Regions from separate parts of the Homo sapiens genome. Here region 1 is linked to region 2. The links are contacts of gene promoters, found by promoter capture Hi-C in human tissues and cell types (Jung and others, 2019). All regions are on one chromosome and are shown on one strand. Each heading gives the region's core, a stretch centred on a gene start or on the middle of the fragment in contact. The rest is flanking DNA. Distances are from core to core; before and after follow the strand shown.

The links. Contacts are between HindIII fragments. The study calls those that stand out against the background at their distance.
Region 1: a fragment that was not itself captured here is called in contact with the fragment with the promoter of TOMM7 in region 2 in 1 of the 25 tissues and cell types used here (lymphoblastoid cells).

The regions. Positions count from the first base shown.
Region 1 is chr7:23,121,156-23,124,772 of GRCh38, reverse strand. KLHL7 (kelch like family member 7) reads right to left here. Exons shown (of 11, transcript NM_001031710.3): 2 at 894-996; 3 at 1-85. Among named protein-coding and RNA genes, the nearest start is that of KLHL7, 17 kb to the right of the region's middle. The HindIII fragment of the contact is 3,372 bases long and covers 369-3,617 here.
Region 2 is chr7:22,821,384-22,824,755 of GRCh38, reverse strand. It overlaps TOMM7 (translocase of outer mitochondrial membrane 7), which reads left to right and starts at 1,907. Exons shown (of 3, transcript NM_019059.5): 1 at 1,907-2,079. The coding sequence starts at 1,977. LOC112267993 (a long non-coding RNA gene) reads right to left here and starts at 1,799. Exons shown (of 3, transcript XR_002956543.2): 1 at 1,057-1,799. RefSeq lists enhancers at 1,677-1,886, 1,917-1,996, 1,666-2,426. The HindIII fragment of the contact is 34,135 bases long and covers 1-3,372 here.

The DNA of each region.
Region 1 (3,617 bases), core at 805-3,304, 300 kb before region 2:
TAAGCAAATTCCACCAGTTGTTCAATAATATCAGGTTCAGCATCTTTGAGTTCTACTTCAAAGGACTTTGATTCAAGCATGTTAGCTACAATGAAGAGAAGAAACATAAATGGCATCTGTACTACCACAAGTTTGACTGAGGAACCACGGCATTCCAGGCCATGTTAAATATGCAGAAAAATAACGGGACAGTTCTCTCTGGAAGAAAATGCCCCAGCAAGCCCAACATTTCTATAGTCAATGCAAATTAATTCTCCACCCAAGATGTGCCTTAAATTAAGCTAAGAAAAGAGTGAATTAGTGTACTTCTTTTTAAGACCATATTAACAGAAACATAAAACTAGATTTTGTTTTTTTCCCAAGCTCATAAAATAGTACTAAGTAGAGGAAGTAGGACTTGGACCCAGTTCTGAACACCAAATCCAGGGTTCTTTCTGGCACAATATGCTACAGCTATTTTTTTTTTAAAGTTTAACTTGCCGGCTAAAATATTATGAAATTTATCTGCTTCTTTGTCTTTCCACCTAAGGTTAAAAAGAAAACCCTGGGCTTTTTTTTTTTTTTTTTTTTTTTTTTTTTTTTGAGACAGAGTCTCGCTCTGACGCCCAGGATGGAGTGCAGTGGTGCAATCTCGGCTCACTGCAACCTCCACCTCAACCCTGGGCTTTTAAGTAGAAGCTGTACCTCCATCAATAAAGGCATCAGGCCTTTAGGTCTAATGAAAGGACATTTTTTCCTTTGGTTATCAGCTGACTACTTTTTCAATCTCTTCACTGTTCTGTGGCCTTAAGTTCTTAACTGCTTTAAAAATTAGAAAAATGACATATTCTCTTTTAGATTTTACTTCATTCTCATAGAAGAAATAATGGCATGTTTTACCTTAAGATACTTACTTGTGAACATTAAGTTAAAAAAATGACTGGCTGCAGCAAGAACAACACGATGAGCAGGTATCTTTCTTTCCTGGACCATGAGGATCACGTCACACAACGTTTTCTAATCAAAGGAAAAATACATAAAATAAAAAGAGGCTCACTAGCCTAGCTTGGCAATACATGTTAAAAAGGTGCTTGCCAAATGCTTTATCTCTATTTTCTATTTAAAGCCAATCTTTTTCCAGCGCAGAATTTCTTTTGAAGACATATTTAGAAAGGACTTACAGAGTCGCTGCCATGTAGTATAAAAATTTTGCACTGAGTTTTCCAACAGTCAAGAGGAAAGAAAAAGTTCCTCATAATCAGAAACAAGTCTACTAACCCTTCAGAGAAGTCTTTTTTTTTTTTTTTTTCTGACACAGATTCTAGGACATTTCTCATGGTAAGCTTTTCTGGGGGAAATTCAATGACATCATGGCAGTGCCCCTGACACCCTGACAGTTTTTCAAACACAGCAATTAGTTTTTATATGATTTATTTTCCATTATTTATCCTTGATGAAATTGAGAACATACACTGCATTTCCTAAGAAAGTAGCATTCACAGATCTAACTTGAAACAGAAACAGCTCAGAATACAGAGAGGAGATGAACTAAATGTCCTTTCAGCAATCTTTTATTAAATAACACTTCTCTCAAATGCACTTCTGATAGAAGCTGGATAGCAGCCAGTTTTAAATTCTGATTTCTGACCAACGTCAAAATAGTATCACCATAAGCTGCTTAAAGAAGGCAGCTCTGAGTAATACTTAATTAAAATGTGGGGAAAACGGAATAATAAAGAAAAAATTTAAGGCTTACTAGAACACTTATAAATGAATATCAAGAAAAATAAATGTCCTTTTTGCCAAATAAAATCTTAATTTCTTAACGAAGTTAAAGACAAAATATAGAGATTAGGCTTACAGAAAACTTGGTGTATACAATGTATTAAAGACTGTCCTAGGCACTGGGAATATGAGGCAAATAATATATTCAGAGTAAAAAAAATATCGCTTACAAATCTAAGATTGGCTTCATGGCTCAGAGGATTTGCATTTTGCAAATTTTAAGTATTTTACTAAAACTGTTAATATAGTTTCTGATAGATAAATCTGTTATTGTATTATTTTGTGAAGATAAAATAAAATAATAATGTTTAGAATGAGAGAGAAAATAAGCCTCAAATAGCAGGCTAGGAAATGAACAAAATTTCACTTTTACAGCTTATTTGAAGATTTTCAAATAAGGCCTAGTATTGACTATTGCTTAAAACTTATATGCAGGTTTATAACTAAAGCTATTTTTATTCTCATAGTGTCTTGAATTTTTAAATTTTATTTCATTTGGGGAGGGGGTACAGAGGCAGATCTCTCAGGTGTTTTTGCTACATACTATACCAAAAAATACCAAGTAGCATAACCAAGTTAACTATTTGGTTACCACCAAAAAACAAGTGATCAAGTTGCCTTGGAGGTCAAAGGAGGGAGAGAAGGAGAGGGAGAAAGGGGTGGGGAGTGAAGAATAAAGATGATAAAGCATCAAGCAAATCAGATTATATCAGATCATGGGGAGAAATCTATGGCCAGTGATGGAACTTCTATGAAACATAGGGTTAAACCAAAATACAGCAAAAACATCTCCAAGGCATACTCAACAACAGAGTTTATAAGTAGAATGACTTTATAGGCACTGAAGGAGGTTGAAGAAATGTAGATCTTTGTACAGCAACTGAGTTTTAGTCTAAGATTAATGTCCAGCTGGATATTAATGGTTGGAGGGGTGGGGAAAATAAGTAGGAAGAGTCTTTTGTATCCAAATGGTACATTTATTTGCCTATACTACAATAGACTGATAATTTCCAATAAGAGATGGGACTGCCGGGTGCAGCGACTCATGCCTGTAATCCCAGCACCTTGGGAGGCTGAGGCGGGCGGATCACAAGGTCAGCAGATTGAGACCATCCTGGCTAACACAGTGAAATCCCGCCTCTACTAAAAATACAAAAAATTAGCCAGGTGTGGTGGTGGGCACCTGTAGTCCCAGCTACTTGGGAGACTGAGGCAGGAGAACGGCATGAACCCAGGAGGCGGAGCTTGCAGTGAGCTGAGATCGAGCCACTGCACTCCAGCCTGGGCAACAGAGCGAGACTCTATCTCAACTAAAAAAAAAAAAAAAAGGATGGGACTGACCTATAGTGAAAGGCCCCTCCTGTTATTAATAAGCTAAAGAAAGGTATATCCACAGACAAGAAATGGGGGCTCGGTGTGGTCGCTCACACCTCCAATCCTAGCATTTTTGGGAGGCCAAGGCAGGTGGATTGCTTGAGCCTAGGAATTCGAGACCAGCCGGGGCAACATGATGAAACTCTGTCTCTACAAAAAAAAAATACAAAAATTAGCCAGGCGTGGTGGTGTGTGTCTGTAGTCCCAGTGACTGGAGGTGGGGGTGGTGCTGAGGTAAGAGGATCACTTGAGCCCCAGAGGTGGAGGTTGCAGTGAGTTGTGATTGCATCACTGTACTCCAGTGATATCATTATAACAAAGAGACATCTGCACCCCCATGTTTACTGCAGCACTATGCACAACAGCCAAGATATAGAGTCAACCTAGGTGTCCAGTGATAGACGAATTGATAAAGAAAATATGGTATATATACACCATGGAATAATATTCAGCCATAGCAAAGAATGAAATCTTGTCTT
Region 2 (3,372 bases), core at 658-3,157:
TTTTACTAATTTTGTAAGGATTTAAATATATATAGTTGGCTTCATTTTACAGGTAAGGAAACTGAGATTCAGAGATATTAAATAATTGATCAAAGATCACACAGTTGGTTTGTGCTTTTAGTCATTATATTGTCCCTTGCTGTTGTTATCTGAGCTCCACCAAAACATAAACTATTTCTTTTTTTTTTTTTGCTCTTTCCAACTTTTACTTTAGTTTCAGGGAGTGCATGTGCAGGTTTGGTATACAGGCTAACAGATTAGCGAAAAGATTAGACATTATGGTTTAGGAGTCATGCAGCTGGAGGCTACAAGATTCTGACCCTCCCCAAATTGCTCCTGGGGATAACAACTCTATTGTAAAGCCTAACATCAGTGTTTGAGATATTTTGCAGACCCTGCAAAATGGATCAGCTGGAACCACCCAGATAGGTAAACTGGCTCATCTGATCTTGTGGTCCCAACCCAGGAACTAAGATTCTGACCCTTCCCAAATTGCTCCTGGGAATAACACTATTGTAAAGCCTAACATCAGTGCTTGAGATACTTTGCAGAGCCTGCAAAATGGATCAGCTGGCACCACCCAGATCGGCAAACTGGCTCATCTGATCTTGTGGCCCCGACCCAGGAACTGAGGCAGTACAAGACAGCTTCCACTCCCTGTGATTTCATCTCTGACCCAACCAATCAGCACTTCCGACTTACTGGCTGTCTCCCCACGCACCAAATTGTCCTTAAAAACTCTGATCCCCGAATGCTATGGGATACTGATTTGAGTAATAATAAAACTCTGGTCTCCTGCACAGCCAGCTCTGCGTGAATTACTCTTTATTGTAATTCCCCAGTGTTGATCAATCGGCTCTGTCCAGGCAGCGGGCAAAGTGAACCCTTTGGGAGCTTACAGCAAGTGACCCAATCACAGCTCACTGCAGCATCAAACTCAAGTGGTCCTCCCGCCTCAGCCTCCCAAATAGCCAGAATTACAGGCGCAAGCCACAGAGGTCAGCAAGGGGAAATTTTTAGGAGCACAGACATTGGGCACAGAAAACGACTACGTACCTTCAGAATGAGGCAGGAAAGTCTTAAAAGTCAAAGTCTTAGAAATGTCTTACAGCCTTAAAAATCAATTAAGTCTTAGACCTGGGGGGGTCAAATCTCAAATACGACAGCAGCCAGAAATTTATTACATCAGAGGTTGGGAATCACTTGGGAAACTTCAAAGGCAGATCAATGGCCAGTTCCCAGCCCCAAACTCTTTAGAATTTCTAGGAGTAGGTCTCCAGCGTGAGTATGGTTTTACCTCTCCTAAAGTGATTCTAATGTGCAGCCAGGGTTGAGAACCACTGCCATTCTAAACCAATGAGGGCAAGATGGCCAAACAGAAGTGTCATTTCCTATTTAGTCTCCTTGATTGTTGCAATGGAATTCCTCAGCTTCAAAAGTCCAGAATTTCATGTGAGATTTCCAAATTCTAAAATGTTGGCAAGTAATTAAAAGAAATTTTTTTAAAAAAGATTGGGATCAAAGAAAACATGGATTCGGGCCCTACTGAGTGTCACTTCGTAACCTTTTTGCAGTTCAACCTCAGGTTTGAACAACCTGATTCTGAGAAGTTAAATAATTTGTCCACGGTTACACAGCCAGTAGGAATAAGAGTTAGGACTAAAACCCAGTCCCTCTGAATTTAATTAATGTTCCTTCCATGAGAAGGAAGGAACACCTGAAGATGCGTTTTAAAAATGGGTAACAGAAACGCGAAGTTACCGCCAGCCATGATCGCAACCACGCATGCGCCTACTACTGCCGGCGAGGCGGAAGAGCAGGGAAGGTTAAAGGCGATGAATTACGACCTCTGCTGGCGACGCTCACGACTCCTGCCGTAAAGGCCGTGTGTGGCGCCTGCGCACCTCCTTTCCCTTTCGGATTCCCGACGCTGTGGTTGCTGTAAGGGGTCCTCCCTGCGCCACACGGCCGTCGCCATGGTGAAGCTGAGCAAAGAGGCCAAGCAGAGACTACAGCAGCTCTTCAAGGGGAGCCAGTTTGCCATTCGCTGGGGCTTTATCCCTCTTGTGATTTACCTGGGTCAGTGGGAGAAGAACCGGGAAAGTGACTGGAGGGAAGAGGGTGGCGGAGACAGCAGCCCCATTTTTGGCCGTCGGGGGAGGGAGAGAAAAATAGGGGACACTGCCGTGCACGGCCCCTGAGGCTGTCTGGTCAAGTGGGGCCGATCTAACCTGAGTTCGAGTTCCCGTTCTATCGCTTTATAGTTGCATGGTCTTTAAGCAGTCTTGCAATCCCTCCTTTTCTATTTTTGCATCCTTAAAGTGGAGGTCATATTTCTCGGGATTGTAGGGAGGGTTGGATGACCCCAGTGGATGTGAAAGTCACTAATTCACTCTCTAGCACTAGGTGGTTCTCGGGGTGTTTTTCCTCACCGCTCCATGTGGTCCTAAGTGGAAAGAGTCCTGTTCAGGGAATCGAGACACCTCGTGAAAGTACCACTGCCATGAAAGCATGATTATAATAATAGTCGTTGGATGCCTCTGCTTTCTTACCTGTACGATGAAGGGTTTGGATGATTTCTATTACTGCCCCCATTTTACAGGTGAGGAAACAGCCGTAGAGAAACTTTTTTGCCAAGGTCGCACAGCTATGCTGACTGAGGGAGTTAGGGGCTCAGGCAGTGGGGCATCAGAGCCCATAGTCTTAACCATTATAGCGCACTTAAAGGATTTGGGGTTTTTTTGGTTTTTGTTTTTAAGACAGAGTCTCGCTCTGTCACCCAGACTGGAGTGCAGTGGCGCTATCCCGGCTCATTGCAACCTTCCCCTCCTGTGCTCTAGCGATCCTTCCACCTCAGTCTCCCAAGTAGCTGGGACTACAGGCTGGTGCCAACAGGCTCGGTCACTTACTGCAAGGATTTGTTAATATTTTTCAGTTAGGGTTGCAGACTGGGACCTATTCTGTAGTTTTTTCTTTTCTTTTCTGTCTTTTTTTTTCCTTTTTTCCTTTTTGAGACAGTCGCTGTGTGCCCAGGCTGGAGTGTAGTGGCGCGATCTCTGCCCACCGCAATCTCTGCCTCTCGGGATCAAGCGATCCTTCCCCCTTAGCCTCCCGAGTAGCTGTGATTACAGACTTGCAGCCACCGCTCGCGGCTAATGTTTATATTTTTAGTAGAGACGGGGTTTTGCTTATGTGGGCCAGGCTGGCCTCAAACTCCTGGCCTCAAGTTAGCTACCTCCCCTCCAGCCGGCCTCCGCCCCGCGCGCGGCCTCCCAAAGTGCTGGGATTACAAGTGTGAATCACCGCGGCCAGGCTGTAGTTTTTTCTTTTTCTTTTTTTTTTTTTTTTTTGAGACGGGGTCTGCCTCGCCCA